Linked DNA regions of Homo sapiens: regions 2, 3 and 4 are each linked to region 1. The links are contacts of gene promoters, found by promoter capture Hi-C in blood cells and fetal thymus (Javierre and others, 2016). All regions are on one chromosome and are shown on one strand. Each heading gives the region's core, a stretch centred on a gene start or on the middle of the fragment in contact. The rest is flanking DNA. Distances are from core to core; before and after follow the strand shown. Region 1 holds the start of ARMC12 (armadillo repeat containing 12). Region 2 overlaps DEF6 (DEF6 guanine nucleotide exchange factor). Region 3 overlaps PPARD (peroxisome proliferator activated receptor delta). Region 4 overlaps RPL10A (ribosomal protein L10a).

Evidence for each region. Contacts are between HindIII fragments. The CHiCAGO score rates a contact against its expected background, and 5 or more counts as called.
Region 2: a fragment that was not itself captured here is called in contact with the fragment with the promoter of ARMC12 in region 1 in 2 of 17 cell types (total CD4 T cells and non-activated CD4 T cells); the score reaches 5.6 in total CD4 T cells.
Region 3: a fragment that was not itself captured here is called in contact with the fragment with the promoter of ARMC12 in region 1 in 1 of 17 cell types (naive CD4 T cells); the score reaches 5.8 in naive CD4 T cells.
Region 4: a contact is called between a fragment that was not itself captured here and the fragment with the promoter of ARMC12 in region 1, in 6 of 17 cell types (naive CD4 T cells, fetal thymus, naive CD8 T cells and 3 more). The highest score is 8.5, in naive CD4 T cells.

Annotation. Positions count from the first base shown.
Region 1 is chr6:35,735,727-35,738,411 of GRCh38, forward strand. It overlaps ARMC12 (armadillo repeat containing 12), which reads left to right and starts at 1,306. Exons shown (of 6, transcript NM_001286574.2): 1 at 1,306-1,545; 2 at 2,301-2,446; 3 at 2,658-2,685. The coding sequence starts at 1,383. It overlaps LOC285847 (a long non-coding RNA gene), which reads right to left and starts at 1,221. Exons shown (of 10, transcript NR_027117.2): 1 at 1,115-1,221; 2 at 37-152. RefSeq lists enhancers at 1,586-2,194, 2,195-2,685. The HindIII fragment of the contact is 11,422 bases long and covers 1-2,685 here.
Region 2 is chr6:35,314,371-35,317,055 of GRCh38, forward strand. The region is part of intron 5 of DEF6 (DEF6 guanine nucleotide exchange factor); the gene reads left to right. Among named protein-coding and RNA genes, the nearest start is that of DEF6, 18 kb to the left of the region's middle. The HindIII fragment of the contact is 1,874 bases long and covers 387-2,260 here.
Region 3 is chr6:35,419,271-35,421,955 of GRCh38, forward strand. PPARD (peroxisome proliferator activated receptor delta) reads left to right here. Exons shown (of 8, transcript NM_006238.5): 4 at 857-1,011; 5 at 2,550-2,685. Among named protein-coding and RNA genes, the nearest start is that of FANCE, 32 kb to the right of the region's middle. The HindIII fragment of the contact is 467 bases long and covers 1,080-1,546 here.
Region 4 is chr6:35,470,529-35,473,213 of GRCh38, forward strand. It overlaps RPL10A (ribosomal protein L10a), which reads left to right. Exons shown (of 6, transcript NM_007104.5): 6 at 52-252. The coding sequence ends at 222. MIR7111 (microRNA 7111) reads left to right here; the gene lies at 1-51. Among named protein-coding and RNA genes, the nearest start is that of MIR7111, 1.4 kb to the left of the region's middle. The HindIII fragment of the contact is 1,852 bases long and covers 447-2,298 here.

The sequences.
Region 1 (2,685 bases), core at 56-2,555:
GACCCTGGTGGGGAAGAGGGAAGGGTCTGGTCTCACCTGCCCCATCCTAGTGGTGGGGATCAAGACCTCCACAGGTGGGCTCACATCCTCTGGGGTGGTGGCATCTTCTGACTCCAGAGGACCTCACAAGCCGCCTCATATCCCTGGGGAGGCTGAGAGGTGATACTTCCAAATTTAGCTGAAAGGCACAGACTTACCCACATTTTAATCCTGGAGTTTTAGAATGGTAAATCCGAATCCCTTTAGGTTACAAATGCAGAAACAGACTAAGGCAAAGGCGATCCCTTTCTCCTCCAAGGTCACTCTGGTTAGAAGGGTCTGGAGCCCCAGTTACTAGATGCTGTCATTGTTCTGCCGCCAAGTCCTTAAAGAATGGCAGAACATGACTTAAACCACCTGCTAAGTACAAGATTCTATGCTGGAGATGCAAAGGTAGCTGTCCTCAAGAGCACTTTGTCAAACAGGTAAACTTCAGGGCAACATGCAGATGCTGGAAAAGGGTGGATTTGCCTCAAGAGTCTGTGCATGCTTTCTAAGATACTCCCCTCCTTTTCATCCTCTGATGCGGGGAGGGAACCCTACCTGAAGAAACACCCCAAGGCCCAGGGGTAGATCTAGGGTGGAGAGATCACATATGGGAGGGCCCGGAAAGAAAAGGAACAGGGTTGTCAATGGGCATACCCCAAACACCTCACCCAGAAATGCCCTAAGGCCCCAGCCCGGAAATGGACCTCTGCTGCCCTCTAATGGTGGAAAGGCAGCCTCTGGAGCTACCTGCTGGGGTCCCCCCTTAAAGAAGAGGAGATGTGAAGGACACTTCTGCCCTCTCCCCTTTTATTCCCCTTCTGTCTTATGCTTCATCTCCTGTGGTCTCTAAAGCAGAACCTTCTCTTTTTTTTTTTGAAATGGAGTCTTGCTCTGTCGCTTAGGTTGGAGTACAGTGGCGTGTCAGCTCACTGCAACCTCAACCTCCCAGGCTTAAGCGATTCTCCTGCCTCAGTCCCCTGAGTAGCTGGGATTACATGTGTGCGCCACAATGCCTGGCTAATTTTTTTGTATTTTTAATAGAGACAAGGTTTCACCATATTGGCCAGGCTGGTCTCGAACTGCTGACCTCAAGTGATCTGCCTGCCTTGGCCTCCCAAAGTGCTGGGATTACAAGTGTGGGCCATGGTGCCTGGCCCCATCTGTTCTCGAGCACTCCTGGCTGCCCCATTTCCTGACCACTGCCCTCCATCCCATTATCTCCCCAGTTTCCTTTGTTGCCTAGGTTCCAATTCTGGTACCCTGGTTCCTGACCCTGCCAGAGTTCTGGTTCCGGAAGGCCCCCCACAGGTGCCTTGGGCCTAGCTCTCACCTGGGCCCAGGGCAACACTGAAGACATGGGCAAGAGCATCCCCCAATACCTGGGGCAACTGGACATCCGCAAAAGCGTAGTCAGCCTGGCCACAGGCGCCGGGGCGATCTACCTGCTCTACAAGGCCATCAAGGCTGGCATAAAATGCAAACCACCCCTCTGTAGCAACTCACCCATCTGCATCGCCCGTGAGTGTCCGGGCCCTGGGGAGAGGGCTCTGCCCCAGGAGGCACCTGCTCCCGAGGCCTCTGCTGTGGGAGGGCCCAAAGGTGATGCCTCCAAGTTCCTCTTTCCTTTGTCTTTCTCTTGTCCATCTTCCTCAAGCCCACCCTGCAGCGTCCTAGGCAAGGCCCTGCCAGAGATGCTAGCTCAGGGTCCCTGGATCTCACTCAAGTGGATCCTCAGACTCATCTGGCAGGTCTCCAAATACTACATTTCCTCTGGCTCCCAGGATTCCACTTCTTGGAAACTTGGTGTCGGCAGCTCCCCCCATCCCTTTTCTGCCCTAGGAACGTGAGGCTTTAAGGAAAGGGAAGATTGGAGGACTTACTATATGCCCAGAGCTTCCACTAGTCCACATGTTCTTTTGTGCAGAGTAGGAAAATGAGCCCCTTCTGCAAGACTCTTTATTGCCATCTGCTGGAATATCATTGCCACATACTGGTTATGATGAAATACTACTTGTTACCGCCATATGCCAGACAGTTGTTAGAGTAAATGGACAAATCTATGATGGTACGTTATGGACAATACAACATTAGATAGGGTGCCCTTGTGCAGTAAACATTCGTTCAACTGTACATGGTGGTCCTGCATATGGCGAGAAGGCTTCTCCGAAAAGGCAAGGCAGCCTTGTCCCCAAGTCCCTGTCCCCTACTTCCCAACCCCATTCTTTCATCACTTCTGAGTCCACAGCCTGAACTGGGCTGGGGTGGCTGTCTAGGCCTGGCAGTCGAGCGAGAGCGGCACGGGCGGGACTCAGGTGAGCTCCGGAGGCTCCTCAACTCTTTGGAGTGCAAACAGGATGAGTATGCCAAGAGCATGATCCTGCACAGTATCACTCGCTGTGTGTACTTGCTGGAGGCTGAGGTAAGGGAAGCAGGAGGTCCCCCCTAGCCGGCCTGGCCCCTGGGGGTTACGGCCGATCCCTGCCCCTGGAATGGCCAGACTATATCCTGGGACCTCTCTCTGGCTGATAGCGGTGGGGGGGGGGTGTGCGGAGGGATCTTGGTGACATGGGGGGCAGTGGGCCCAGAACACCCGCTTCTCCTGCCTCTTCCATCTCTCCCCAATACTCCAGGCCTCTGCTTGTACTACGGATGACATCG
Region 2 (2,685 bases), core at 74-2,573, 420 kb before region 1:
CACTTCAGCCTGGGTGACAGGAGTGAAACTCTATCTCAAAAAAAAAAAAAAAAAAAAGATGTTCTCTATTTTTTTTGTAAAAAGCCATTTTAACTGGGATGAAATGATATCTCATTTAATTTTGATTTGCTTTTCTCTGATGATTAGTGACATTGAGCATTTTTTCATATCTCTGTTGACCATTTGTATGTCTTCTTTTGAGAAATATCTATTCAGATCTTTTGCCCATTTTTAAACTGGATTATTTGGTTTTTTGTTACAGAGTTGTTTGAGCTCCTTATATATTCTGGTTATTAATCCCTCGTCAGATTGATACTTTGCAAATATTTTCTCCTATTCTGTGGGTTGTCTCTTCACTTTGTTGATTGTTTCCATGGCTGTCCTGAAGCTTTTTAGCTTGACATAATCCCATTTTTCTATTTTTGGTTTGGTTGCCTATGCTTTTGAGGTCTTCCACAAAAAATCTCTTTGCCCAGACCAATGTCCTGGAATATTTCTCCAATGTTTTCTTCTAGTAGTTTCATAGTTTCAGGTCTTACATTTAAATGTTTAATCCATTTTTATTTGATTTTTTTATATGGTGAGAGATAGGGGTCTAGTTTCATTCATCTGCATGTGGTTATTTAGTTTTCCCAGAACCATTTATTGAAAGGACTGTTCTTTCCCCATTGTGTGTTCCTGGAGCCTTTGTCAAAAATGAGTTCTCTGTAAATGCATGGATTTATATCTAGGTTATCTATTCTGTTCCATTGGTCTTTGTGTCTCTTTTTATGCCAGTACTATGCTGATTTGGTTACTATAGCTTTGTACTACATTTTGTTTTTTTGTTTTATTTTAGAGACAGGATTTTTCTCTGGTGTCCAGGCTGGAGTGCAGTGGTATGATCATAGGTCACTGCAGCCTCAGTCTCCTTGGGCTCATGGGATCCTCCTGCTTCAGCCTCCTGAATAGCTGGGGCTATAGGTGTGTACCACCGTGGCCAGTTCGTAGTGTATTTTGAAGTCAGGAAATGTGATGCCTCCAGCTTCGTTCTTTTTACTCAGGCTTACTTTGGCTATTTGAGGTCTTTTGTAGTTCCGTATAAATTTTAGGATTTTTTTTCTATATCTATGAAGAATGCCTTTGCTATTTTGACAGAGATTGCACCAAATCTATAAATTGCTTTGGGTAATATTGTTATTTTAACAATATTAATTTTTCCAATACATAGCATGGGATATCTCTCCATTTTTTTGCATCCTCTTCAATTTATTTCATCAGTTTTATAGTTTTTCTTGTATAGATCTTTCACTTTGGTTACATCGATTCTTAGGTATTTTACATTCTTTGTAGCTGTTGGAAATGGGATTGCACTCAACTTCTTTTTCAGATTGTTTGCTGTTAGCGTATACAAATGCTACTGGGTTTTGTATGTTGAATTATCCTGCAACTTTACTGAATTCATTCATCAACTCTAACGGTTTTTTGTTGGAGTCCCTTTTTTTTTTTTTTTTTTTTTTGAGGAGGAGGAGGAGTCTTGCTTTTATCGCCCAGGCTGGAGTGCAATGGCACGATCTCAGCTCACTGCAACCTCCGCCTCCCGAGTTCAAGTGATTCTCCTGCCTCAGCCTCCCAAGTTAGCTGGGATTACAGGCACCTGCCACCACACCTGGCTAATTTTTTTTTTTTTTGTATTTTTAGTAGAGACAGCATTTCACCGTGTTGGCCAGGCTGGTCTCAAACTCCTGACCTCAGATGATCTGCCCACCTCGGCCTCCCAAAGTGCTGGGATTACAGGTATAAGCCACTGTGCCCGGCCTTTTTTTTTTTTTTAAGAGAGAGACAGGATCTCACTGTATTGCCCAGGCTGGTGTCGAACTCCTGGCCTCAAGCAATCCAACCACCTCAGCTTCCCAAAGTGTTAGGATTACAAGTGTAAGCCACCACGCCCCATGGAGTCTTTAGATTTTTCTAAGTAGAAGACCATGCCATCTGCAAACAAGGCTAATCTGACTTCTTCATTTCCAGTTTGGATGCCCTTCATTTCCTTCTCTTGCCTAATTGCTCTGGCCAGAACTCCCAATACTACATGGAATAAAAGTGGTAAAAGTGGGCATCCTTGTCTTGTTCCAGATCTTAGAGGAAAGGCTTTCAATTTTTCTCCATTTATTACAATGTTAGCTGTGAGTTTGTCATAGATAGCGTTTATTATTTTAAGGTATGTTGCCTCTATACCCAATATTTTAGGGCTTTTATAACACGATGTTGAATTTTTTTAGAAAGCTTTTTCAGGGTCTATTGAAATGATCATATATGGTTTTTGCTCTTGGTTCTGTTACTATGATGTGTCATGCATATTGATTTGTGCATGTTGAACCATCCTTGCATCCCTGGGATGAATCCCATCTGATCATGGTGAAAGATCTATACTCACAATATTGTACAACCATCACCACTATCTATTTCCAAAACTTTTTCATCACACCAAACAGAAACTCTGTACCTACCAAGCAATAACTCCTCATACTCCCTGACCCCAGCTCCTAGTATCCTCTATTCTGCTTTCTGTCTCCATGAATTTGCCTTTTCTAGGTATCTTACATAAATAGAATCATAAAATATTTGTCCCTTTGTGTCTGGTTTCTTTTACTTAGAAATGTTTTCAGGCTTCATCTATGTTGTCAAATATATCAGAATTTCATTCCT
Region 3 (2,685 bases), core at 63-2,562, 320 kb before region 1:
TCAGGAAGCTGAGACTCAGTTCAGGTCCCCTTTCCAAGATGAAGAGATCATTTCCGAGTGTCCAAAGGGCACTGGGAAGAGAATCCTAGCAGTTCTTATGAAATCATCTGACAGCAGATATATCCTGAAGTCATAGCCTTAGCAAACTGCCTTTCTCGCCAACACACTCAACACCCCGTGGTTCAAACATCTATACGTCTGATAGAAAAACTTGGAGAAATTCAGTGTGTTGCTTAATCAATATGACTGATACCTAAGCTGTTCTACTCAAGAAGTTTTCATGGGAATGAACTTGAGCTTCTTGAAGAGATTGTTTACAGCATCCCTGGAGTCTATGCAAGAATAGAACTTCCTGTGGGGGATGGTGGGGAGGCTAGCTCTGCAGAGGTCTACAGTCCTGCAGTTTCTGCAAAACACGTTGCACACATCTCCATATGGGCCACACGGTGGCAACCTCTGAACCAGGAGAGCTGCTTCCTAAGGGCTAAGACCCTCTGTCTGCTTTCTCTCTCTTGCTTTCCTCCCAAAACACAGCCATCCTCCTCCCCACTGCTACCCCATGGTGAGTTCAGCCCAGGAAGCCTCTGACCCAGCCCTGATGGTAATAGCTGCTGTGTACTGGACATCTTCTGTATGTTAGGCTCTGGGAGAAATGCTGTGGAGACTTTTTGCCCATCCTCCCAGAGAAGCTGTCAGTACCCCCTGTTCTAGGTGAAGAAACTGGTCCTCAGAAAGGTTGACTCCCTGAGGCCACACAGCTGTTAAGTGGCTGAGGCGAGGGCTGTGGGGCTGTTCCCACGCCCTGGCTTCCAGGCCTGGCAGCATGTGGAGCTGCCCCTCCATCGTGTGTCCGCAGACCTCTCCCGGAGCTCCTCGCCACCCTCACTGCTGGACCAACTGCAGATGGGCTGTGACGGGGCCTCATGCGGCAGCCTCAACATGGAGTGCCGGGTGTGCGGGGACAAGGCATCGGGCTTCCACTACGGTGTTCATGCATGTGAGGGGTGCAAGGTACGGACTGGGGGGAGCGGTGGCTGGCCACTGAGGCTGTGGTCACATGGTGAATTGACCCTCCACAAAGCTTTCCTTGCCTTGGGGTGGGGCCCTGACTGTACCTATTGCAGAATTCCTGCCCAGGAGGCAGCCAGGCCCTTGTGCTCCAGACCTCAGCTCTGGGCACTGCAGGAGAAGAGGGGGTTCCCTTGTCAAGCCTACCCTGCTGGGCACCTGTGTTGACCCAGCTCTGTGGGTGATTGTGTCCCCCTGGGGACCAGGCAGCTAGGGCAGAATGAGGGTCTTGGGCTGAGCCATCGTCTTACCTGAGGTCTGGGTTTCTTGTTTCTCAAGGCTCAAAGCGGGCTCTGAGAAAAAAGGACAGACATTTGTTTTTCCAGTGATATTTGTGGGTCCTTCCTAACTTCACACCCATCAAAATCTCACAGATTATTTTATTGAATCACCACCTCACAAATACACAGAACCAGATACATTTATGAAGAAATCAAGTTAGCCGTGAGACAATCTTATGTTACCAAACTAACAAAGAAGCTTTTTTTTTTTTTTTTTTTTTTTTTGAGATGGAATCTCGATCTGTCGCCCAGGCTGGAGTGCAGTGGCGTGATCTCAGTTAACTGCAACCTCCACCTCCCGGGTTCAGGAGATTCTCCTGCCTGAGCCTCCAGAGTAGCTGGGATTACAGGTACATGCCACCATGCCTGGCTAATTTTTGTATTTTTAGTAGAGATGGGGTTTCACCACATTGGCCAGGCTGGTCTCGAACTCCTGACCTCAGGTGATCCACCTGCCTTGGCCTCCCAAAGTGCTAGGATTACAGGTGTGAACCACTGTGCCTGACCCAATTTTTGTAGTTTTAATAGGGACGGGGTTTCACCATGTTGGCTAGGCTGGTCTTGAACTCCTGACCTCAGGTGATCCACCCACCTCGGCCTCCCAAAGTGCTGGGATTACAGGCGTGAGCCACTGTGTCCAGCCCCAACAAAGAAGCTTTAGGACTTCTTTAGACATTTAAAATAGTTGTGTTTTTTTTTTGTTTTGTTTTGTTTTATTTTGTTTTGTTTTGTTTTGAGATGGAGTTTCACTCTTGTTGTCCAGGCTGGAGTGTAATGGCGCGATCTTGGCTGACTGCAACCTCCACCTCCCGGGTTCAAGCGATTCCCCTGCCTCAGCCTCCTGAGTAGCTGGGATTACAGGGGTGTGCCACTACACCCAGCTAATTTTTCTGTATTTTTAGTAGAGACGGGGTTTCACCATGTTGGCCAGGCTGGTCTCAAACTCCTGACCTCAGGTGATCCGCCCACCTCGGCCTCTCAAAGTGCTGGGATTACAGGCGTGAGCCACTGTGCCTGAACTAAAATAGTTTTAATTAAAGTTTTAGAATTACTTTCCTTCTCCATCTCCCCTCCAAAAAAATTTCTTCTCGTTACTTCCAAATGTCAGGAGTGTTTACACCTTATACATAATCGGGCCCTTTGGCACAGCCTCCCTCCCACCTCCTGGTGGCCTTTCCTCACCTGTTCTTGGTGCTTCAGGGCTTCTTCCGTCGTACGATCCGCATGAAGCTGGAGTACGAGAAGTGTGAGCGCAGCTGCAAGATTCAGAAGAAGAACCGCAACAAGTGCCAGTACTGCCGCTTCCAGAAGTGCCTGGCACTGGGCATGTCACACA
Region 4 (2,685 bases), core at 123-2,622, 270 kb before region 1:
ATCTGCTATTCGTCCACCAACCTGACTTGATCCTCTCTTCCCTCCTCCCAGGTGTTATGTCTGGCTGTAGCTGTTGGTCACGTGAAGATGACAGACGATGAGCTTGTGTATAACATTCACCTGGCTGTCAACTTCTTGGTGTCATTGCTCAAGAAAAACTGGCAGAATGTCCGGGCCTTATATATCAAGAGCACCATGGGCAAGCCCCAGCGCCTATATTAAGGCACATTTGAATAAATTCTATTACCAGTTCCCTCTGTCTGCCTGTGATTGAGGGTGGGGGGTGGTTTGTCAGCTGACAAGTGAGGGCCTTGGCACTGCTGATGGCTAGTTGTGTAGTTTGTCACTTTGATGATGGATAGTTGGGTACTATAGGGAAGAGGATGTTTTTCTGCCATCAAAATCAGGCAGTCTTGCATATGTGATAGGGTTGCTAACGGCATTGAAGCTTTTTGACAGGATTGGTCCATGTAAATTTAAAATAAGGATTTTAGTCAGCATTTCTGTGTTAAGAAGACCACATGTGGAGTATCCTATGCTTTGGGTTAGTAATGAGTAAATGTTAAGGAAAACAAGGCACAGCAAACCAGTACAAAAGTATAATTAATGGACCTTGTTTTTTTTTTTTAAATGGAGTTTGTAGCCCAGGCTGGAGCGCAATGGTGCGATCTCAATCTGTGGGTCCCAGTTCAAGCAATTCTGCCTCGGCCTCTCAAAGTGCTGGGATTACAGGTGTGAGTCACCATCCCCAGCCAGATCCTGTTAACAGTATTCCAGGTCCTTGCCCCAGGCAGGCTAAGCCCCCTCCTTTTCTGAGGCATTTCCCTGTTGGCAGTTCTTGCCTCTAGCACCCAGTACTGCTTTAACCTTTGACTAAAATGAGCTTAGTTTGACTTTGGTAAATAGGGGAACAAGTTCATCCCTGCTTTTTTTTTTTTTGAGTCTTCGCTCCATTCCCCAGGCTGGAGTATAAGTGGCGTGATCTGGGCTCACTGCAAGCTCCGCCTCCTGGGTTCATGCCATTCTGCCTCAGCCTCCCGAGTAGCTGGGACTACAAGCGCCCGCCACTATGCCCGGCTAGTTTTTTGGTATTTTTAGTAGAGACAGGGTTTCACCGTGTTAGCCAGGAGGGTCTCCATCTCCTGACCTTGTGATCCGCCCGTCTGGGCCTCCCAAAGTTCTGGGATTACAGGCGTGAGCCACCACCCCCGGCTGAGAACGGTTATTTTAAAGCATAAAAGCAGTGCTTAACAATGCTGTATTTTGGCTGGGTGCGGTGGCTCACGCCTGTGATCCCAGCTACTTGGGAGGCCGAGGCAGAACTGTTTGAACCTGGGAGGTGGAGGTTGCAGTGAGCTGAGATCGCACCACTGCACTCTAGCCTGGGCAACAGCAAGAGTCCATCGGTGGTATGTGTGGGAGTCGGGGGGTCGGGGGAGATGCTGCATTTCTCAAAACAAGCCTTCCCTGTCCCTGAAATGAAGAACACAGGGTTTTTACTCTGAGCAGCTTTTGCTTTTTTAGCTTTTAAGAAGTTAACAGCACTTTCTTGGTAAGAAAGGTATAAAACCTAATGAGGATGAGCAGTGAATTTTGGTTCTCAAGACAGGTCCAGCCAGCTACTTGTTGTGGTTATTTTTCTTTTCTTTGGGCTTTTCTGTATTTTCTGAACCTCCTGTGATCTTTGCAATCAGAAGGAAAAGGGAAACTTCAGCTTAAAGCAAAAGCAATTATCTGAAGGCTCGTGTGCTAATCGCCCACAGATGTAATCGGTGTCCAGTGCAGCCTCCAGGAATTTCTGCTTCCTGGACCCCTCCTACCTACTGGGGCTCGGTACCCTCCCACCCATCCAGCAGGTGACAGTTTGGGGCTCCTAGTGGGATACCAGGCACACAACGTGGAGTCAGGCAGACCAGGTTGGAATCCTGATGTTGGCAGTGACTGGCTGTGAGAAGTACATTTAACATGTCTCAAGTTCTCCCGATCTGTTAACTTGAAGGTTGGACTAGAATGACCTAGAAGACTAGATTCTAGAGGGTTGCCAGATTTAGCAAATAAAAATGCAGGATGTCCTTAGTATTGCATGGAACATACTTAAATCATCTGTTTATCTGAAATTAAAATTTAACTGGGTCATCCCCATTCTGTTTAACCCTTTATTCTAGAGTCTCATCTCTAGCCTGCCACCCTTAGAGCAAATACAGTTTCATCCTGTGACAAGTGAGTCCAATCAGTTCACCCATATTTAACTGCAGGAGAAAAAGCTAGAACAGCCTCTTTGGGAAAATGTTTGCTTAAAGCTTTTTTTTTTTTTTTTTGAGACGGAGTTTAGCTCTGTCACCCAGGCTGGAGTGCAGTGGTGCAATCTCGGCTCACTGCAATGCAACCTCCACCTCCCGGGTTCAAGCTATTCTCCTGCCTTAGCCTCCTGAGTATTTGGGACTACAGGCGTGTGCCACCACACCTGCCTAATTTTTTGCATTTTTTTTTTTTTAGTAGAGACGGGGTTTCACCATGTTAGCCAGGATGGTCTTGATCTGACCTCGTGATCCACCCGCCTCAGCCTCTCAAAGTGCTGGGATTACAGGTGTGAGCCACTGTGCCCGGCCGCTGAAAGTCTTGAACTATCTCTGCCCCAGCCCTCTAAGGACTGTGGTCTGTCCCTACTGTGGACAGGTGGCTCAG